7 separate regions of the Homo sapiens genome follow, and all the other regions are linked to region 1. The links are contacts of gene promoters, found by promoter capture Hi-C in blood cells and fetal thymus (Javierre and others, 2016). All regions are on one chromosome and are shown on one strand. Each heading gives the region's core, a stretch centred on a gene start or on the middle of the fragment in contact. The rest is flanking DNA. Distances are from core to core; before and after follow the strand shown. Region 1 holds the start of RASGEF1B (RasGEF domain family member 1B). Region 2 has its middle 440 kb from the start of HNRNPD. Region 3 has its middle 410 kb from the start of RASGEF1B. Region 4 has its middle 390 kb from the start of RASGEF1B. Region 5 has its middle 350 kb from the start of RASGEF1B. Region 6 has its middle 330 kb from the start of RASGEF1B. Region 7 has its middle 300 kb from the start of RASGEF1B.

What was found. The method cuts DNA at HindIII sites, captures the fragments that hold promoters and counts their contacts. A CHiCAGO score of 5 or more calls a contact.
Region 2: a fragment that was not itself captured here is called in contact with the fragment with the promoter of RASGEF1B in region 1 in 1 of 17 cell types (fetal thymus); the score reaches 5.6 in fetal thymus.
Region 3: a contact is called between a fragment that was not itself captured here and the fragment with the promoter of RASGEF1B in region 1, in 11 of 17 cell types (total CD8 T cells, fetal thymus, total B cells and 8 more). The highest score is 9.7, in total CD8 T cells.
Region 4: a contact is called between a fragment that was not itself captured here and the fragment with the promoter of RASGEF1B in region 1, in 2 of 17 cell types (total CD8 T cells and naive CD4 T cells). The highest score is 7.3, in total CD8 T cells.
Region 5: a fragment that was not itself captured here is called in contact with the fragment with the promoter of RASGEF1B in region 1 in 16 of 17 cell types (total CD4 T cells, naive B cells, naive CD8 T cells and 13 more); the score reaches 20.0 in total CD4 T cells.
Region 6: a contact is called between a fragment that was not itself captured here and the fragment with the promoter of RASGEF1B in region 1, in 3 of 17 cell types (total B cells, naive B cells and activated CD4 T cells). The highest score is 7.2, in total B cells.
Region 7: a fragment that was not itself captured here is called in contact with the fragment with the promoter of RASGEF1B in region 1 in 4 of 17 cell types (monocytes, activated CD4 T cells, total B cells and 1 more); the score reaches 7.1 in monocytes.

Annotation. Positions count from the first base shown.
Region 1 is chr4:81,470,190-81,473,350 of GRCh38, reverse strand. RASGEF1B (RasGEF domain family member 1B) reads left to right here and starts at 1,444. Exons shown (of 14, transcript NM_152545.3): 1 at 1,444-1,581. RefSeq lists a silencer at 1,103-1,512. The HindIII fragment of the contact is 14,883 bases long and covers 1-3,161 here.
Region 2 is chr4:81,928,545-81,931,705 of GRCh38, reverse strand. No RefSeq gene overlaps it. Among named protein-coding and RNA genes, the nearest start is that of HNRNPD, 440 kb to the left of the region's middle. The HindIII fragment of the contact is 689 bases long and covers 1,308-1,996 here.
Region 3 is chr4:81,881,186-81,884,346 of GRCh38, reverse strand. No RefSeq gene overlaps it. Among named protein-coding and RNA genes, the nearest start is that of RASGEF1B, 410 kb to the right of the region's middle. The HindIII fragment of the contact is 869 bases long and covers 1,193-2,061 here.
Region 4 is chr4:81,860,443-81,863,603 of GRCh38, reverse strand. No RefSeq gene overlaps it. Among named protein-coding and RNA genes, the nearest start is that of RASGEF1B, 390 kb to the right of the region's middle. The HindIII fragment of the contact is 1,926 bases long and covers 658-2,583 here.
Region 5 is chr4:81,824,376-81,827,536 of GRCh38, reverse strand. No RefSeq gene overlaps it. Among named protein-coding and RNA genes, the nearest start is that of RASGEF1B, 350 kb to the right of the region's middle. The HindIII fragment of the contact is 2,677 bases long and covers 133-2,809 here.
Region 6 is chr4:81,801,014-81,804,174 of GRCh38, reverse strand. No RefSeq gene overlaps it. Among named protein-coding and RNA genes, the nearest start is that of RASGEF1B, 330 kb to the right of the region's middle. The HindIII fragment of the contact is 1,819 bases long and covers 513-2,331 here.
Region 7 is chr4:81,774,746-81,777,906 of GRCh38, reverse strand. No RefSeq gene overlaps it. Among named protein-coding and RNA genes, the nearest start is that of RASGEF1B, 300 kb to the right of the region's middle. The HindIII fragment of the contact is 1,124 bases long and covers 908-2,031 here.

The DNA of each region.
Region 1 (3,161 bases), core at 195-2,694:
GATCAGTAATGTCAAGGGTGTAAGTGACTGGCCCAATGTCATATGGCTCGTTTGTTACAGAATCGGGATGCAAAAACTGAGCTTGAAAAATCAACCAACCAGTACAACCACAACAGCAGGGCAGGGCCACCCAGCCTCTGTGTTTCACTCTGCATGGCTGGCCCACCAAGTTCCCTTGGCCTTATGGCTTCTCATTTAAACTGCAGAGAAGCTATGGTTAAGTCAAAGGCTCAAGTAGGTTAGAGTGAATTACTGAATCAGAGGAGTCCTATTTACACAAAGGAGGGAAGGAGTATCATAAAGAGGAAGAAAAGTAAAAGGAGGCATAAATGAAGAAAATGAAAGAGGAATCCGCTAAGAATAGACAAAGTGAGCGTCAAAATGACTCCACCCCAGGAAGGAGAGGGGGAGGGACCCATGGAGCAGGAGGGAAAAGGATTCCTCCCCCTCAGTAATCTTAATTATAACAGTATAGGACAGGTATGAATAGTGTTGTTTTATATATGAGAAAACTGAAGCTCAGAAAAGCTGTATCACTTACTCAAGGAAATACAGTTGGTAAGAGTCTCCTAATTCTGTAAATTTTTTCTTTTCATAGGTCTCTTTCTTCCCTTGTTTCCATCATTATTTCCCTCTGGCCTCCTTTTATGTGTACAAAGTGAAGTACGGAGGTTTTTACCTTTTTTCTGAAATAGTTATCAAATATCCCATGATGGAGTGAGTACGTGGTTACCATGACAACACAGCCCTCACTGAGGACTAGCCTCCCTGCTTTGCCTCCGGAATCATGTTTCACGGAACAGGTTCCTCTCCGTGCAACTTCTAGCAGCTGTAATTCTACATTTTGTTTGGGTGATTATTTGCTGAATGTCTGTCCTCCACTAGACTATGTAAGTTTCACAATGGCAGAGACCAGCCTACTTTGCCAAGTGTGCCCCCAGCGTTTTGCACAGTGCTTAGCACCAGGATCTATGTGTTATTTGCTAAGCAAATGTTCTGTGGTTCCTCTCCGCTCTCTTCTGAAAGTTACATGGACAGTAACCTTTAGCTCACAATTATGTTAATAAATACTGTGTAACGAGTCGGGCCGGTATTTACAGATAGTATACACGTGAATGAACACACACACACTCACGACTGCACAACAGCCCGGGGCAGGTGCACTCAAGAGGAAACGCGCACAGTCGGAGCCAGCCTGACCAACGCTGTTAAACACCGCTGCGCTGGGCTCCGCGGGCCTCTGCCGCGTGGGAGGGCACCCAGGCTGACGCGCTGCGGGAGTCTGGGGCCCACTGGGACTTGCCTGCCGGGCCGGGTGGCGGCGGCGTGGGCGGTGAGCTGCGCGGTGATTGGCCCGCGCCTGCCGGGGCGGGGCGGGGCTGGCAGCGGGAGGCAGGCGCCTGAGCCAAGGGGGGCGTGCGCGGCGGCGGCTGCCGTAGTTTCAGTATAAACAAGGAACCCGACTGGTTAGACAGATTTTGTTTTTCTTCTTCCCGCGCGCTTTAGCTCCCTGTCCTTTGGTCGCATTTGTGGGCGCGCGGCACGCAGCCGGGAGGCCGAGGACTCGGAGTTCACCTGCAGGTAGGTTGTTCCCTGGCTGGGTTGTTCTCCCGGCTGGGGGACCACAGCCCGGAGCGGGAACTCCGGACCCTACTGCGCGCTGCGCTCTCCCTGGAGATCCCTGGGCCGCGCGGGGAGCGAGCGGGGCTCAGAGACTTCACCGGCTGCCGGGTGCGCTCCGAGGCGGCGGGAGATCCCGAGGCGAGTGAGCGCGAACGCGGGCGCCAAGAGCCGAGTTACAGCCCGGGACCGGGGGAGGGCCCCTGCCCGGCCGCTGCGGGTACCTGGGACTGCCGCGGCCCCAACAGGTGCGAGGCCGAGCCGCTGGGACCCGGGCAGGGCCAGGCTTGGGTTGGGTTGGGTTGTGCCTTCCCTCTTTCTCCCTGATCCTGCAGCCAGGCCTTCTGTCTCGAGATAGGTGGTTTTTGAGGATTTGTCTTGAGTTGTAATCGCGTCCATCATTTTTTTCATCCCTTCTTTCCTTCGTGTGCATACCTAGGTTGATTCTTCCACTTCTTGACCAGTTTTGTGTGCGTGTGTGTGTAGGGGGAGCTGTTTATTTTTGTTGTCAGTGCCATGTAATCTAAAGTCTGACTCGTAGGAAGGGACAAGGGAACAGAAGTCACATACTCGCCACCGACAAGGTGATGTGCTGTCATCCTTCGGTGTTCACCTGGCAAACTTGGGAGACACTGAGTCGCCTTGCTTTTGCCAGAGCTCAGTTGAGTCGCCTCGGGTCACCTGCCTGGGGAATCTCAGATGAGCTAGAGGTATCTAGGAGCCTCGCGGGCAGTCAGCTTAAGGGAGGTTCTTTCTAAGGGAGCTGTGAAAACAACTTAAGTGCTGCACCAGGGAAAAGGGCGAGACGGGGGCTGGGGTGCGCGCGCCTTTGTGTGTGTGTATGGACGTACCATTTCAATACTGCTTGCTGTCTTGCCCCAACCAAATCGGCGCAGTTCAGGCAAAAGCAACGTAGCTTAATCCTCTGACACTGCCGAGGGTGGCACAAGTGTGGCAGATAACACAAGGAGATTGTCTAGACGGCGATTTTCTCTTCGGAATGTAGATGTGTCCATCCTCCCTGATGAATTCGGTGGATATGGTGTATATAGATGAATATGCACACAAATTTGTGTATGTGTTTGGGCCGAACGCGTCTCCAAGGAGTCCTTCGTCAGCACCATGTGACGACGGTCAGGAACTGCTGGTGTGTGTAGATCTATATTTAGCTCAGATGGTCTAATGGCCGAAGGGAGGGTCTCTGAACTGGGTGCATAAAGGGGAAGAGTCTAGGGATCAGGGTGGTGCACTCTTGAATGATGTCTGGCACAGTCACACTCAGATGGGGTGAATAATTGCCCTTTCCTCGTGAAAACAGTAGCTAGAGCTTGGCATGTGATGGCTATGCCTTAATTTAAAACATAGTTGGACCATGGCGATAAGCCTCTGCTAAGAAACAAGGAGGTTTACAGTTAAGCAGCGTATATACCTGGTTGGCCGTTTGGGTGAAAATAACTGGTCCCATGAGATTTAGAACAAATATAGAGTTGCTTTCTTTAATAAAAAGAAATAAAAATTATTTGCTGTTGAGGTTTTCATAA
Region 2 (3,161 bases), core at 403-2,902, 460 kb before region 1:
GCCTTTTTTGCTGTTTTGGAGAACACTGAGTTTTCTTAAAACTGCTATTTTGAAGTTATTTATCAGAGAGCTCACCTATCATTGTCTCATTAGGGTTGGTCACTGATTCCTTGCTTTTTCTTTTTGGTGAGGTCATGTTTCCCTATTTGCTATTGTTCCTTGTGAATGTACATCTTTGTCTTTACATTGAAGGATTAATTATTTCAGTCTTCTCTACATGGCTTGTTTTTGTTTTTATTCATTATGTTTGCTTAGAGATTTCTTTGCAACATATCTGTTTAATATCATTTCTGCCAGGTCACTGCCGCCTTTTAAGTACTTGATGGTGCCTTATGCCCAGGTTTGCTTTGGCTCTGGCAAACTTTGGACCCCTGTCTGTCCTGGATAGGGGAGGTCCCAAAAGTGATATCCCTACAGTGTGGGAAGGATAGGTAGGTGTTCATACCCAGAGAATCCGTTGAATGAATGCCCTACAGTGTGCTGCTGAACAGCCACTCTGATGTGATGTGTCATTTGGTCCAGACACAGAGCAGCATTTTCTGGGCTGGCGATGCTAGTCCCACCTCCCTGTCTTGGTCTCTGGCTGTCCTCAGAAGTTTTTCTCCTTTCAGGCACTCATGATGTTTTCCATTGGTTGAGGCAGGGCAGGTCTCCTGCCAGGGAACCCAAAATGGTGGGGAAACTGTTTGACCACCTCAATCTCACTTTTTCCACTGTAGTAACAATGAGTCAGAAACAATTCTGAAAGTAAGTATTAGTTTACCAAAGTAGGAAGTTTCTGTTCAACTGTGGGTAGTAATCAGTAGGCTTTTCTTCCATAAATACAGTAAATTCATTAGTGGTTACACAATGCTCTACTTTTGGTGAAAATATATCTATATGATTGTCGAGTAGCATTGTAACATTTTGGTGCCATTGGAAGAGTTTAGCATCACACAATGAAACTTGTATTGAGGTCATAGGTAAGTATGAAGCAAAAACAAACAAACAAAAAAACCAAAACCAAAACCAAAAAAACCACAAAAACAAGCAAACAAACAAAAACCCCCAAAGTAATGTGTCAAAATTGTGTGAAAAGGAGACGGCTTCCAAATACTCACCATATTAATAAACCACAGCTACCTGTCCAATTAGTGAATACTTTCTTAGAAATGAAATAATTTTTCTCTTGAGAATTCATTTATGCTTCCAGTTAATTTAGGGCTTTTTTGAAATGTGTCAGGCGGTTGCATATGCTGCAAAAATAATTATCTAAAACCTTGTTCTTTTTTATCTTACTGGAGATAAGTTGTGTATCTAGTGAAGCTTGTACCTAATGCAAGGTCCTTCATGGTTACTTCTCTTGTTTCTGTGCCCCTGATGCATGTACCTCTCCCAAATCTTTTTGTTTGGCCATGGCAGGAGTGGCAGCCCAAGTACTCCAGAGTCTTGCAAAATGCTTGTATGGGTCTGTGCCCTGTAAAGCTGTGTGGATTTTCATATGCCTATTGATAGTAATTTAGAAAATTTAATTGACAGTTGCGGAGGGAACAGATAAATCAAATACAGAACAAAGAAAGGTATAAGATGTTTTCACAATGCAACATTAAATTATACAAAATAAACTAATGTCTTGGGACAGCATTTCTGTCGTTTTGGACATAGCACACATAAAGCAAGCTACTGAGCCACATCAGAGCATCTTGCTGTATTTTGATGTATTCTTAAATGAAGGTAACCTAGGATGAGTTATGGTTGTGGAACCTTGTGTCTTCAAGAACTGGTTGAAGAAACAACACGAGGGCACATGAAAAATTACACCTTAGCTAACCACTGCTGCCACCACCACCACTACTATCACCACTGTAACACTATACTTTCTTGTCTGTTTTTATTATGCCAGAAATTGTCCTAAGTGGTTTATGACATTTTCTCATTTAACCTTATGGAAACCCTCTAAAGTAGCTATTATTAGTACTCCCATTTCATAGCCAAAGAAACCAAGGCTTAGAAAGCTTATGTAGCAGCCAGGAGTGGTGGTTCATGCCTGCAATCCCAGCACTTTGGGAGGCCAAGTTGGGTGGATCATGAGGTCAGGAGTTCAAGACCAGCCTGGCCAAGATGGTGAAACCCCGTTTCTACTAAAAATACAAAAATTAGCTGGGCGTGGTGGTGGGCACCTGTAATCCCAGCTACTCAGGAGGCTGAGGCAGAGAATTGCTTGAACCCGGGAGGTGGAGGTTGCAGTGAACTGAGATTGCGCCACTGCACTCCAGCCTGGGTGACAGAGCGAGACTCCATCTCAAAACAAAAACAAAAACAAAAAACAAAACAAAAGCCTATGTAGCATAGTTAAGGACATATAAACAGAAATGTGGTAGAGCTTGTATTTAAAGACAAGTCTCTGACTCAGCAACATGTGTTAGTGAAATTCCAGTTTAAGCATTTAAGTGTTTGTATGTGGAAGCAGCCCCTATGATACCTAAAAGTGAAGTGAACATCAACACTTCACAGAGTCAGTAGAATCATTAAACTTATAACCTGTCTACAGTGATGTCATAGAAGTACCAAGTGGGATATCTGGGAAAAGGGAGCATTTAAATATACAATTGGGGAAATTTCTGGTTAGTGGCTACAATTCCTCTAAGAGCCTAGGTCTTAGATGGGGATAAGGGAGAGTTATGACCCTACAACCAAGTCAAAGTATTTTTAATCCAGGAAAAGTAGAATCATCTTTTAGGCCTTTGGAACAGACTAACAAACAGAATTTGGAGGGAGTGGTAGTCATACATCAGACTCTCAGAAATTGCCTTTTGAGTAGGAGTGGAGGTCTCTTGACACTGAGACTTATGATTGGAGAAATCCAATTTGAAGTTCTATAACAGAGTAGGTAGTGTGGAAGGGATATACTTCACAGTAAGAGGAATTCATTTTACTTCTGGGTCTCTAAGACTTTCTTGTGAAGTAATAGGTCTACTCTGACTTAGGAAAAGAACCTCTTGTAAAGAACAGAGTGGCTTTTACTAGATACTTTCAAAGTCTAGGCTTTCTGTGTATTTCTTTCCATTATACTGAGAGTTGGAAGGAGGGACTAACATAGTGAGAGCGTGGAAATACTGGCCATAGCCTTTATGTCTTCTAACATTTTGAGAAAACATAGGGTCTATTTTTTGCTACTCAAA
Region 3 (3,161 bases), core at 378-2,877, 410 kb before region 1:
TTTGCTGGAAACACAACTCTGAGACTGGGGAAGGTGGGGCCCCATGGACTACAAATCCACATCCTCATACATGTCTGCTTAAAACCATTAACCTTCAGGCATTCTCAGTTAGCTTTATCTATTTGCTGCCATTTATGGACTTGTTTCCTAATAAGGGCTCCCACTTGAAGGATACCGTTAATATTCTACGATTTCCTTCTATTTCAAGAAATTCTGTTTTCTTTGTGGGTTTGCCACTATGAGATTCAATTTCCCTGATAGATGTGTGTTTTCTGCCCTCCCTTGTGTGATTAATTCAGAGGAAGCATTTATCTGTTGTGATCTAAATGTGTATTTGTTTTACCCTGAACCAACAAGACAATTACAAATGTTGTCTTGCCTGCAACCATAGGCTTAGAAATGCAGTTGTCACAATGTAAGCCGCAAAGCATGTGACTTCGGGGCTCTGTGCTGACACTTGACTAGCTGAATACATGCAGAAGCCAGAAAGTGGAAAATTTTTTACTGGCGATGACGAATGATTTTCTGCCCTGCAGAACTGGCAATGGACTTTGCTTGGACCTTAATTTGACCCAGAGTTGTTCCTATAAGTATGCAGAGTAACATGACTGTCTCACTTCCCTACAATACTATATGCCTGGGGAAACTCCAACAATATTAATTGTGTGGAAGTGCCCTGACTTCTCCCACCTGCCTCAGGGTTCTCATGGACTCTAAAAGCTCTGATGGGCCCCAGCATCGGAGACAGACTCTGAGACTGAATGGATCTTGAGCAAGCAGCTCATCCTGTGTTGAGGACCTGGGATAGGGCTATTGCTCACAAAGGAAAATTCAGGGATGGAGCAGCTCCATTGATATCCTGGGGAAGGTGGGGCCCCATGGACTACAAATCCATATCCTCGTACATATCTGCTTAAAACCCAGTAGCCCTCTGCTGTCATGTGCTTAACATTCAAAACAAATTCTTTACTGCTTTCAGGGCCAGGCCAAATAAAGTTCTGAAGGCAAAGACGATAATGAAAAATACTGGTAACTGTCCCATCTTTGTTATTAAAGCTGAAAAAATATGACTTAGATGGTACCCTTCATAGTGACAACCCTGAGTATCTAATGCTATCTTGAGATGGTTCCTCAGGGAGCAGTTTTATGTCATTTTCTTGTAACTGTCACTCTAATGTGCTGAAGTGAAGCTTTATTGTCATTTGCATATTCTGAAAGTTTACTGAATTTTAAAAATGTGTGCCTGAGAAATAGCTTGTCTTGATTTATTTAGGAATTTGGATTTTTTTTTTCCTGGTTGGAAATGCCACAAACCTGGCTGCTACACTGATCATTTATTTAGTATAGCTTTATGTGGAGTTAGTCCAAAGAGTTAGGATTTAAAAAGGTATGCTTTTAAAAGTCATGATTCCCATTCACAGTAAAATAAAGGAGTCATACGTGTAAGAAAATACTTGGAGTCTGGAATTCCCAGTATAACGCTATGGATTAAGTGTTCTAAGAGCAGGCAAGAAAGTGAAGGGGAGCATTGACCATGTCAGCTTGAGGTACTTTCACAGTGGGAGTGGCATTTAAAGTCGTTTTTGAAGGAATAAGTAGGAGTTTGGAGGATGAAGAAAGATAGCAGAGACCACTCCAGACAAGGGACAGAGTATGAAAAGGCAGGAGATACAACACAGGGGGAGGGTGCTTGTGGATCTGAAAAGTGTTCTGTGGCCAAGAGGGTACATAGAGATTGTAAAGAAGCTGTATATGATTGCCTGAGGGATTTACAACAGACACGTGGGGCCATGGGAGGCTTTTAGGCAGGAGAATGAGTCAAATACTACATAGAGTAAGGTGACTGCACCTTTAAGAACCACCAGTGAGGGACTTGAACCACCAGTGAGGAGCAAGAAGGGAGGTGTGAGGTCCTAACTTCCTGATTCACTGGCTTCCTGCATGCTCCAGGGTTCTTCCTGTCCTGGTGCAGGAGGTATGGTTCTACTTTCAGCATTGGACAGAGGAGCTTTTTAGATCACAGGAAAGAATGTATGATGATGGAAGCTGTTCCTGGAAGCTTAGCTTAGTTTATGCCTTTTTCTTTAGTGATTGTGTTAAGCATTTAATACCTGACAATAAAATATTGTTTTGCTTAAACTAGCTATCATAGTATCTGTCATCTACAACTGGACTCAAAATGATACAGCATCCCACCAGGCCTGCAGGCTGAGCTAGGAAGCCAAGAAAGAGACAGCTGAGTTTTGTCAGACTTGATGAGTGGGGAGTAGGAACCAGGGCACATATGCAAGTGGAGATGGCTCATAGCCAGGGACGAAGACAAGTGAAACTAGGTGGAGACAGAGCTGGGGAGGGTGGGAATGCCTCCTGGCACTGGGCGTCTTTGTGAAGTTAAGGGTTGCTTTCACTGGATGTCAATAGGTGAGGCATACCTTGGCATTAATAAGGAAAACATGCCAATAATTTTGTGAACCTCCCAATATGCTATCACTGTGGTAACATTTAAATCTGATCACAGAGGGCGGTAAAGCATGATTAAAAAATTAAATGAACCTATTTTACTTTATTTTATTTTGAGACAGGGTCTTACTATGTTACCCAGGCTGGAGTGCAGTGGCACAATCATGGCTCACTGCAGCCTTGACTTCTCCAGACTCAGGTGATCCTCCCACCTTAGCCTCCTGAGTAGTTGGGAGTACAGTTGCATGTCCCCACTCCCGGATAATTTTTTTTGTATTTTTTTGTAGAGACAGGGTTTTGCCAAGTTGCCCAGGCTGCTCTTCAACTCCTGAGCTCAAGTGATCCACCTGCCTTGGCCTCCCAGTCCGAAGAGCTAGGATTACAGGCAGGAACCACAATGCCTGGCCCCTCTTTCAGATATTTAGTAAAAATTGTTTTGTGTATGTGATGAGAAATAGAAAAAAAACAAAGCTGCAGAGAGATGCTAGTTTGCTAGTGTGCTAGGCAGTTGCTAGATTCACTCACCAAGTCCATCCTCAACAAGCTGACTGATCTTTGCAAGACATGGCCCTTTAAGGTTCACTTGCATTTGAAACCACAAATGTTAAATTCATAAATACTAACTGTCTGTGTTTTTGTATGTTAGTTGTAGGCTTGTTTTTTAGTTAGACTAATAGATTTGAAAGTAAATCTGCCAGACA
Region 4 (3,161 bases), core at 371-2,870, 390 kb before region 1:
TATTTTTTTTTATGGCTAAGCAGTACTCCATTGTGTATATATATCACATTTTCTTTATCCATTCTTCTGTTGATGAATACTTAGGTTGCTTCCAAATCTTGCTATTGTAAATAGTGCTACAATAAACATGGGAGTGCAGATATCTCTTCCATATACTGATTTCTTTTGGATGTATACCTAGCAGTGGGATTGCTGGATCATATGAGATAGCTCTATTTTTAGTTTTTGAGTAAACTCCAAACTCTTTTCCATAGTGCTTTTACTAATTTACATTCCCACCAACAGTGTACAAGGATTCCCTTTTCTCCACATTCTCACCAGCATTCATTATATCCTGTCTTTTGGATAAAAGACATTTTAACTAGGGTGAGATGATACGTAATTGTAGTTTTGATTTGCATTTGTCTGATGATTAATGATGTTGAGCATTTTTTCAGGTACCTGTTGACCATTCATGTGTCTTCTTTTGAGAAATGTTTATTCGGGTCTTTTGTCCATTAAAAAAATTGGATTATTAGATTTTTTTTTCTATGGAGTTGTTTGAGCTCTTTATATATTCTGGTTATTAATCCCTTGTCAGATGGATGGTTTACACATATTCTCTCCCATTCTGTGGGTTGTCTCTTTATTTATTGTTTCCTTTGCTGTACAGAAGCTTTTTAACTTGATATAATTCCATTTGTCTATTTGTGCTTTGGTTGCCTGTGCTTATGGTGTATTACTCAAGAAATCTTTGCCCAGACCAATGTCCTGGAGAGTTTCCCCAATGTTTTCTTGTAGTTGCTTCATAGTTTGAGGTCTTAGATTTAAATCTTTAATCCATTTTGATTTGATTTTTATATATGGCGAGAGATATTGGGTCTAGTTTCATTCTACATATGGATATCCAGTTTTCCCTGTATCATTTATTAAAGACACTGTCCTTTTTCCAATGTATGTTCTTGGCACCTTTGTCCAAAATAAGTCAACTGTAAATGTATGGATTTATTTCTGGGTTCTGTATTCTGTTTCATTGGTCTACATGTCTGTTTTTATGCCACCCAGTACCATGCTGTTTTGTTACTGTAGTTCTGTAGTATAATTTGAAGTCAGGTAATGTGGTTCCTCCAGTTTTGTTCTTTTTGCTCAGGATAGTTTTGATTATTGTGAGTGTTTGTGGTTTCATATAAATTTTAGGATCGTTCTTCTATTTACTTAAAAAATGTCATTGGTATTTTGATAGCAATTGCACTGAATCTGTAGATTGCTTTGGGTAGTATGGACATTTTAATAATATTGTTTCTTCCAATCCATGAACATGGAATATCTTTCCCTTTATTTGGTATGTCCTCTTCAATTTCTTTTATCAATGTTTTATGGTTTTTATTGTAGAGACCTGTCACTTCTTTAAGTTTATTCCTAGGTATTTTATTTTACTTACAGCTATTGTAAATGGAATTACTTTCTTGGTTTATTTTTCAGATTATTTGCTGCTGGCATATAGAAATGCTACGGATTTTTGTACATTGATTTTGTATCCTGTAATTTTACTAATTTTTTTTTTTTACCTGGTATAATAGTTTTTGGTGGAATCTTTAGTTTTTTTCAAAATATAATATTTTTCATCTGCAAAGAAGGATAGTTTGACCTCTTCCTTTTCAATTTAAATGCACTTTATTTCTTTTTCTTGTCTGACTGCTTTAGCCAGGGCTTTCACAGCTGTGTGGAATAACAGTGATGCAAGTGAGGATCCTTGTCTTGTTCCAGATCTTAGAGGAAGGGCTTTCAGTTTTTCCCCATTCAGTATGATACTAGTTAGAGGGTCTGTAATATATGACTTTTATTGTGTTAAAGTACGTTCCTTCTATACTCAGTTTTTTGAGGGTTTTTTATCAGGAAGCGGTGTTGAATTTTATCAAATGCTTTTTCAGCATCAATTGAAATGAATGTTTTTGTCCTTTATTCTGTCAATATGATATATCACATTGATTTGCATATGTTGAACCATCTTTGCATCCTTGGGATAAATCCCACTTGATCATAGTGAATAATCTTTCTAATGTGTTACTGAATTCTGTTGGCTAGTGTTTTGTCGAGGATTTTTTGCATCAGTGTTCAGCAGGGATATTGGCCTGTAGTTTTCTTTTTTTGATTTTTTTTTTTTTAATCAGGGTAATACTAGCCTTGTAGAACGAGTTTGGGAGTATTCCCTCCTACTCTATTTTTTCTGGAATAGTTTGAGTAGGATTGGCGTCGGTTCTTTAAATGTTTGCTAACATTCAGCCATGAAGTCATTGGGTCCCAGACTTTTCTTTGCTGGGAGACTTTTTATTACAGCTTTGATATTGGTCTATTACTTGTTATTGGTCTATTCAGGTTTTGGATTTATTCATGGTTCAATCTTAGCAGTTTGTATGTGTCTAGGAATTCATGTTTCTTGTAGGTTTTCCACTTTATTGGCATGTAGTTGCTCATAGTAGCTTCTAATGATCCTTTGAATTTCTATGGTTTCAGTTGTAATATTTCTGTTTTCATCTCTGATTTTATATTTTTGTATTGTTTCTCTTTTTTTTTTTTTTTTTTTTTGCTAGTCTGGCTAAAGCTTTGTCAGTTTTCCTTCTTAGGTGCCAAGCTTCTCTGGCTGAATATCAGCATGGGGACATCCCTATGTGTTGGTAATCTCTAGCTAATTTACCAGTAGTCCAGAGACTCCACATTCAGTCAAAATGGCTCATGTCTGTTCCCAACCAACAGAGAACCAGTCCTGAGTTTCTCCCTTCAGGGAAGTGGGTTCCCCTCTAGCCCAGGGCAGGTCCAGAAATGCTGTCCAGGAGCTAAGGACTGGAATCAGGGACCCCAGGAGCCCACTTGGTGCTCTCTTCCTCTGTGGCTGAGCTGGTTCCCAAGCTGCAAAACAAAGTCCCTTTTATTCTTCCTTCTTCTTTTCTCAAGGTGAAGGGACGTCTCCCATAGCCATCACAGCTGGGAGTGTGCTGGGACACACCTGAAGCCAGCACAGCTCTGAGTCTTACCAACAAGGCCCATAAGGAGTACTGTCCCATGCCTACCACCGCTGACTATTTAGAACTTAAGGGCTTTTTAGTCAGCAGATAATGGATTCTGCCAGAACTGAGTCCTTGCCTTCAAGACAGTGGGTTCCCTTCTGAGCCAGGGTGTCTAGA
Region 5 (3,161 bases), core at 222-2,721, 350 kb before region 1:
CCCTCAAAGGTTGACTGGTATTGTTTAATTGAAGATCATTTCCCCTGGGGCTATGGCACTAATGTCTGAATTCTTAGACATGTTCCTTAATTTACTCTCCCTAGGGTGGCAGTGCTCGTGCATCTTAAAGCTTACTTAAAAATGCAGTTATGGTCTCTTGAGTTGCCCCCACATGGACTCTTCAGTAGCTGGAGAGTGGGTCCTCCCTATGTTCTGAGTCCCATTTCAGACGGAGAATGAAACTTGAATTCAGGGTTGAGCAGAGAAATTTTCACCGCTAGACTTGCATTTCCTGGAAAAAATTTTAGTTGCATCAGCCAGGGAATCAGGATCATTTCTATAACTAGCCCCTTTAGGGTTTAGACCAGTTTTCTCAAATGTGGGCAGTTTTTCCCGCTAGAGAACATTTAGCAATGTCTGGAGACATTTTTGTTTGTCATGACTGAGGTAGGTGGAGATTGTCAGTAGCATCTGGTGGGTAGAGGCCACACATGCTACAGAACCCCCTACAGTGCACAGTGTGTCCCCACGTGCCCTCAAAACAAAGAGTTATCTAGTCCAAAAACATTTACAGGGTCTTCACTGAAAAAGCCTGGTTTAGCCAAACCAAGCAGATAATAGACAACAGCTTTACGCTAAATATAAGGTGTATTTTACCATTATTTAGAAGTCTTTTATCTCTCTTCTTTCTTATATCCCTGAGCTTCACTTTATAATAGTGTTTCCTGTGAGGCTGCTTTTCCAGCACAGTGCTTCCAAAGAAATGTTTTGGGATAAGGACTGCAGTTTTGCCAGATGTTATTTTCTTTTGCATCTACTCAGTTCATATTTATTGGTTATCTTCTTTGTGCCAAGCACTGGGCTAGTAATGGGACTACTGCAATGACCAAGTTTCAGTGGGTCTTTACATTCTTGGAGCAGAAATCTGGGAATCAACACTGAGGCCTCTCTCATGGCACAGTGCTCATGTGTACAAATGAGTAAAGATGATGACAAGTCATGAGGAAAACATCTGATGGGAAGATTGTGGGTGGGGTAGTTCACGGTAGCATGTGGAATGCTGCCTGGTTCTTTGGCTTTTCTCTCTGTCCTGCCCTAATCTTTGAACAGACAGCAAGAATACTATTTCTTACATCCCCATTGTAATACAGAAATGAGAGAAACTAAGATATACCTGGCAGCACAAAGAGCAAGAGGACATGAAATTTGCAGGGCTATACCTGTCCTTTCACCACCTGCTACTGTGTTTCAGGGCTGAAATTAGGTCAACAGGATAGATCCTGGTAACTAGAATGCATCATGTGCCCTTATTCTCCTTGAGTGAAGATGACTGCTTCTCTATGGAAACCATTTTCTTCTTTTTTAATTTTTTGACAATTCTGCTTTTTGTGCCTGTTTTTTGTGAACTTTTCATTTTGTCCTTCTTTTTGTCTTTTGCCTTTCCTCTTTTCTTCTGCCACCAGAATTCTTCCCTTCTTTCAGTTTTCCCTTTTTAATTCAAACTTTCCCAGTAACATTTATTCCTTCCCTCTCAAATGAAATAAAAATGGCCAGCAAACCAAACTTGGAGATTATATCTAACCTAAACCTTGAACTTAATTTTTTAAATTAAAGATGCACTTTTGTATGTGTATTCACATTCTGTCTTTTCTGTCCTTTAATACTGCATGTTGTTTTGACCCAGAATATGTGCTGACTTAGATCCTTAGCTTTCTCACATGCTTATTGCAAAACAGACAAACAAACAAACAGAAAGCAAAGCAAACCAAAACCTTAGGTGAGGTGGTAAATATTTTTATGATGTTAAAAGAGCAGAGAGTAGGAGACAGTTTATATACACTAGATTTTCCAGCCATATACAAGCATGTTTATTGCAGCATACTTTGTAATAGCAAACAAAAGAAAACAAGAAGCAACAACAATGAAAGAACCAAAACCTGTTGATCAATAAAGGAAAGCATAAAATTATGATATATTCATATTATGACATGTTATATAGGTATTAAGAAGAATGAATTAATCTGCATGGGCTGAACTGGAAAGATGTTGATAATATATTCTTAATTAAGATGGTATGATCATAAGAACGAGACTTCTATATAATATGCGCAGACATATTTGCGTGGGAATAGAGAAAGTGTGGAAAGATGAATACAAATTTGTATTATGGGTTACCTCAGGAGGATAGGGTATAAAAGAGACTAACTCATTAAGAATAAATATTAGTTTTATAATTAAAGAAAATGTAAAAAAGTTTACTGAAAAAAATCTCAATACTGTTTGTATGGCTGACCATGGCTATGTATTTATTCATAGGATTGTCCAAAGGGAACATACTTGCATGTAAATCCCAATATAGCCTTGAATGTTGCAGTGCCTTTTGAGTGGTTCATCAGGCCAAGCAAGTATACATACAAATGTGTGAGAGGTCAACTACAGGGAGAGTGAGTGCATTAAAGATAGTAGAAAGGAGATAGCAAGCCCTGGTATTGTTCAGACTCACAAATCTCTTACATAGGCAGAAGCTCCATTCTCCCACTTGGGCTCATAACAGCTGTCATTTGAAAGATTGGGCATAGCTGACTCTAACATTATGCACATATCTCTTTAAGACAGAAGATCATATGTGTTTGGAGGTGGGTTCTGGAGTTAGATGGCTTTGCTTCCTGACCTAACTATGTCCAAGGTATATAGCAATTAACCTAATTGTGCGTTCGTTACCTTGTTTGTAAAATGAAGATAACAGAATCCTTACCTCACTGAATGGTTCTTGGCCCATAATGAACGTTCCAGCTTGGGTAGAGAAGCTTTGGGAATAGTGAAGGCAGACACATTTTAAAATTCACAGAAATCAGTAGGGGACACAGTTAGGTAGTGCCTACCTTGGATTGGAAATGAACATGGAATGGTCACTATCATTATATGTTAACAATTCTAAAGTGTTTTCCATCTTCCTATTTTGTAGACCACCATTTTCAGCACATTGGCCAGTGAGAAGTCCTTATCTGACTGCAAAAAGGTAAGTCAGCATCCAAGAATTCCAGCATACTGTCAGAGTAATAAAGGCTTCAGAGTTGGTGATATTCGAATGAAAAGCTGCGATATCAGTGAGGATGTTCTGATGGAATATTATGGCTCTCTTTCTTTAGAGATGGAAATGT
Region 6 (3,161 bases), core at 173-2,672, 330 kb before region 1:
TATTTGCCATAGCATTCCCCACCATTATGCTTGTCTGCTCCTTCCTTGTCCATATTGTTCTTTTCTCCTGAACTCCCTTGCACCAAAATTTATACCCTCTCTTTCATCCAAAAACAGCTTTTAGGTGTCTTGGTTTTTAAATATATATGCTCAGATGGTCAGTGGTCCAGTTTCATAAACAGGGAGCCTGGGAATCCTAATCTTGACTAGCTAGGATGTTCTGATAACCTATCCAAAGTCAGTGCTCACAAGACTTCCAGTTCTAGAAAAGTGTGAGGGTGAATTAAGTAAAATTTTGGTCTTTTTGTTCCTCCAGACACCAATCAGCTGGTAGAGGAAATTCATTCTGTTTTCATTGCTCCTTATCTCTGTAATGTTCATTTCAACAATGTCTGGATCGAAAGGATTGAGAGAGCCAGAGTGTTTATAGATTCTTAACTTGATCTCCATTCATAAAAAAGGAAGCTAGTGCACTTATTGAACAACCCATTCAACATCCTTGAAACCAAGCTTGCTACCTCAGCATTTAAAAAATTGCCTTTTGTCTGCAAACCCCTTCTAGTGGGATCAGCGAATACCAGGCAAATTCATGGCCCAGTCAGGAAAACCTGCCAGTTTGGCTTAATGTTTTATTGCTATTTGTAGCAGAATTTTAAAAATATATATACTTTATGTGAAGGAATAGACAATTCCAGAGAAAAAGACTGAAATCAGATTGATTCTATGAAAATTAGCTACTTGTAACTATGTATGCTCTCTCAAACTAATATTGATTGATCAAGGGAAATCATGTTTGAGTCACCATGATGTAGTAAAAAGATCAAGATCAAGACCTTGGATCTGGTTTCATCATGGACTTGTGTGGTTTGGAGGAAGTATCTTAATTTCAGCATCTATTTTCTTATGTGGCAAATGATTGTAATAGCATTTAGGCTCAATATACAGTTTTTTGTGAGGGTTACCTGTATATCTGCTGGAGGGGCACTAATGTGGTTGCCTCCAGTGAGGGTGGGGAAGAGGAGAAAAAGGAGGAGGCAGAAAGAAGACTTTCTGTGAGATCTATGGGAGGACAGGAGGGGAAGATTTAAAAAGTTGTTACGGTTTTGTGAAGGGAAGAACAGGGCAGAAAGAGCCAATTGGGGAAAATTTGTTGTGATGTTTCATCCCTTTCTAATGAGAGAAGCTGAGGCAGTGCCCCTCTTCACGAATTACACTATGATAAACCCTATATACTGCTAACTATTCAAGAGCAGGAATGGCAATACTCTTATTTCTGTCTTCCCAGCATACTCAGACCAGACCCTGGAACGGAGCAGGTTTTTGATGAATGCCTGTTGAATGATGAATAAACGGATGAAGGGAACCAAGGTATAACATAATCACATGAGGATACAAAGCAATCTCTAGATGAATGATTGCTGAATGAATAAGTGAATGCACAATTTTTATCTGACGATTGTGTAATTTAGGTTAATTTGAAGACTGTAGGGCACACAAATAGGAGGGTACAAAATACAAAGTGCAAAACACTGGTGAAACAGCACGCAGACTGTTTTGAACCCCTGCTGCTACTGCAGCTGCAAGGGTTGGTTAGGAATTTGTTCGTGTGATAAACAAAAGGACTATGTACATACAGTTTTGGGACTTCCAAGTAATAAGGGTATCGTTTGCACTTTCAGTCTGAAGATTTGTCCTCCAATAATGAGGCAATGGGAAAAACCCCTGTTGCTGCCATACAATGTTATACAAAATGTGCATTGGAAAAGAAGAGCAGCCCCTGTAAAATTGGGTGAATGTGTGGAAATGCTCACAGCTGTGTTAATAAAGTATTTAAAAGTCTGACCTTGAAGCATTTGCCAAAAATTTACATGCTAAAGAACTGTAAACCCACTAGAGCCTCCTTTGCACGCTGTCAACACTCTGCTTACGTTTATTGCATGCATGAGCTAATCAAGGGAAATTGGATCAGGACTTTTAGAACCTTCTATTCTTCTGTTTTGTTTACCAAAACACTAGCTTCTAGAGAGATTGGAAAAATAATGGGTCATCTAGATGGAAGAAGATGTGGTATTTAAAGAAATTTATTCACAGATAGGTTTAGGACTTGGCAAGGGAGAATGAGGTTATCTGTAGGCCTATATTTTTCATTTCAGAACAAAGAACTGTATCTGGCATAGGAAACAGCCAAAGATAAGCAGGATATAAAAAATGAGTCTGAAAATTATTTGAGAAAGAATATTCTGTCATGAAATGTGCTTTAGGGGTAAAGAAGGAGAATAGTTGAATTTCTTGAATCACCTGTGGGGGAGGATACTTTTATGCAAAAAAGCTTGCCACCGTAAGGTAGACAAATACCAAAAGCTTAGCTAGCTTTAGGAGCTTAGAGTAAAGGGGAAAGAGGAGCAATAATACTGGTAGTGCCAAGCCACTTGAATTAGCTGAGATCTCTTACTGCTCTGTGTCTTCCAACATGTTGTTCCTTCTACCTTTCCCTCCAACTTTGCCAGGAAGTGCTTCAGCAGGCCCCTATCACATGTTACCTTGGCAGCAGAGACTTCCACCACTCTCCAAACTGCTTTCTGTCCTTTGTTTCCCAGAACAATTGGACATGTATTTTGTTTCTGCAGCACTCATTCACCTAAACTTCATGAGCACCTGTCATGTGCCAAGCACTGTGAACACAAAAACGTGTAAGACAAAATTGCTGTCTGCAAGAGGCTCACAGTCCAGTAAAGGAAGTAACATTTGCAGCAAAAAAACTACCCAAAGGGTATGGAAGATGTGCTGTGGAGGGTGACTTGGTGGGGAGAGGAAATACCATTTCACATGGAGAGAACAGCTCAGGTAAGCCTGGGGAGACTTGAGATGCCTGTGGTTGCATTTCTGGCATCACCGGTATTTCAATGGGTAACTGTCAACCTCATTTTCAGTTCTTGGAATTAAACTGATTCATCTGTCATATAAACCAGGGGTCCCCCAACCCCCAGGCCATGGATCGGTATTGGTCCGTGGCCTGTTAGGAACCAGGCCACATGGTAAGAGATGAGCAGTGGGTGAGTGAATGAAGCTTCATCTGTATTTACAGCTAATCCTCACTCGGATTACCACATGAGCTCTACCTCCTGTCACATCAGTGGCAGCATTAGATTCCTATAGGAGCA
Region 7 (3,161 bases), core at 220-2,719, 300 kb before region 1:
GTTCTTTGCAGGGACATGGATGAAGCTGGAAGCCATCATCCTCAGCAAACTAATACGGGAACAGGAAACCAAACATCACATGTTCTTACTCATAAGTGGGAGCTGAACAATTAGAACACATGGACACAGGGAGGGGAAAAACACATACCTGGGCCTGTCCGGGGGAGGTGGAGTGAAAGGGGAGGGAGAGCATCAGGACAAATAGCTAACACATACAGGGCTTAAAACCTAGATGACGGGTTGATAGGAGCAGCAAACCACCATGGCACATGTATACCTATGTAACAAACCTCCATGTTCTGCACATGTATCCCAGAACTTAAAATAAAATAAAAAAAGATTATACTACTTAAAAGTCAGAGAATCCTATGATTTAATTCTGACTTTGCTATGTGACAAGTTTCTTGGACAAAGTTTCTTTACCTTTCTGATTCTGTTTCTTTCTCAGTAAACAACAGATGATAGTGCTTAGATAGTATTGTTGCAAATGCTAATGAGTAATATTTGTAAAGGACTTATGTAAGAACCAGGTATGTAGTAAATTCTCATAAATTTACATTTGTTTAAATTGTTATTTTGGCCATTATTATACTTTTTATGTCATAGGAAAAAACCCTGTGAAAATCTATGTAAGATTGTGGTGTTGTCTTCTTTATCAACTTCTGATTCTATGTACTTATTTGTGGAACAAGCTATGTGAACCTGTCTGGAATAATTGATTGTAGAAAATTTTTGTGGTATGTAAGGTGACTACTTTAAGTTTTGCTTAAACCTCACCAGGTATCTCTTTTCAGTTGTTTCTGTACTTGCTCTGAAATTGTAAACATGTTGTCATTATGTCATTGAGTGATCCCTGCTCCTTCCTTGCATTGGAAATTTTTATCAGAGCTTGGTTCTAGGAAAAGCTTTATCTCCCTTGGGAAAGTAGTGGATTTCCTCTTCTCATATCAAAATGTCTTACACAACTTATCACATTTTCCTTAGTCTGGTTTGTCAGGAAGATTGTAGTTGGTCTTTTCACTCAATCACAACCACCTGACTCATTGTTATATTTTGGATATTTACTTTTTCCTTTTCTTTCCAATTAAAAATCTTATTTTAGTAATTTATTTTTCCTTACTTTTGCTGTGCCTCATACAGTTTTGGGAAAGTGGTGAGGCAGAAAAAAATATGTATGCATATGTATATACATCCTCATATAGATTTATTTTGTTAATTTTTATTTGAAAGTTTGACACACAAGTTTAAGTTTTGATATCAGCAACCCCCTTAACCCAACTAGCTCTCTTTTGCCTTTGTTCATTTCTTTCACATTTGTCCAACAAATATTTCTTGTTTCCAATTGATGGGATTTTAATTTTTATTTTTAAATTGACACAAAAAATTTTATGGGGTAAATAGTCATGCTTCAATACCTATAATGAATAGTGATCCACCAGGGTAATTAGCATATTACCCTGGATTTCATCACCTGGCACATGTATTATTTCTTTGTTTTGGGAACATTCAGTATCTGCTTCTAGCTATTTGAAACTATATAATATGTTAGTGTTAACTGTAGTCATCTCACAGTGCTATAAAACACTAGAACTTATTCCTCCTATCTGGCTGTAGTTTTGTATCCTTTAACAAATCTCTACCCATCCTCACCCTCTCCCTACCCTTCCCAGACTCTAGTATCCTCTGTTCTTTTTACTTCTATGTGATCAACCTTTTTTAGCTTTTACATATGAATGAGAGCATGTGGTGTTTAACTTTCTGTTCTTGGTTTGTTTCACTTAGCAAAATGTCTGCCACTTCTATCCATGTTGCTACAAATGACAGCATTTCACTCTTTTTAATGGATGAATAGTATTTCCCGGTATATGTATACTACATTTTCTTTATCATTTATCTATTCTTGGACAGCTAGGTTGATTCCATATGTTGGCTATTGTGAATAGTATTGCAGTAAACATGGGGGTGCAGATATCTCTTTGATGTACCGATTTCTTCCTTTTCTTTAGAGAAACGCTCAGTAATGGGAAAGCTTCTGTACAGCAAAGTAAATAATCAATGGAGTGAAAAGGCAACCTATGGAATGGGAGAAAATATTTGTAAACTATTCATCCAACAGGGGATTAATATCCAGGATATACTAGGAACTCAAACATCTCAACAGCAAAAACCCAAACAGCTTGATTAAAAAATGGGAAAATGATCTGAACAGACACTTCTCAAAAGAAGACATACAAATGGCCAACAAATGTATGAAAAAAATTATCAATATCCACTAATCATCAGGGAAATGCAAATGAAAACCACAGTGAGTTATTATCTGACTCCAGCTGAGGATGGCTATTATCAAAAAAACAAAAATTAACAAGTTCTGGCAAGGATGGGGAGACGAGGCAGCTCTTACACACGGTTGGTGGGAATGTAAACTAGTACAGCCATTGTGAGAAGGTTCCTCAAAAAAGCCACAGATGGGCTGGATTTCAGGCGGACGAGGTTTCCATAAAAAGGAATCAAAGTATCATCAGTGAGCTTATGTCCTACTAGGGGATATGGACTCTTGAGAGGAAGTACAGACCTAATGAGATCAGAGTTGCTTCCATTTAAAAAGTTTAAAATTTGATAACCATGCTGTTAATTTTGATGGAAAAATGACAGCCTAGGAGAAAGACCTGGGCTTTTTGTTGTTGTTATTGACATTATTGCTGAATCTGTTGGGATTCCACTAGCTTGCCCATAGCCTCAGGAGAAATTGGTTTTTCTGTTCGTTATCTTGGTGCCTTTTCTATAATAGCTACAAATAAGATATCTTTTCATATCTGTGAGGAAAGGGAATGAATTTTATTTTGTCACATCCCTGACTATGCTCTTAAAGACAGGGAGAAAATATAGCTTAAGAACCTCTGGTTATTGAATCCCATTTTCTTGTCATTTTGTACCATACTTTCGGGATGTTTCTCAGGGCAACTTACTATCAGTGGTTAATGTTGTCCTATTTTCCTTCTCGTGGTTTTTTTTAAAAGACAACAAGAGGCCTTTTATCCTATTTCATGAGGAAATGCAATGTATTATTAATCACGATTATTTTATTTATAAGCCAACACTGCTTTGGAAGGGCCAGAGCCCCACTAAGGATGATTCTTCCTGCTTTCAAGTCAGGAGCCTCT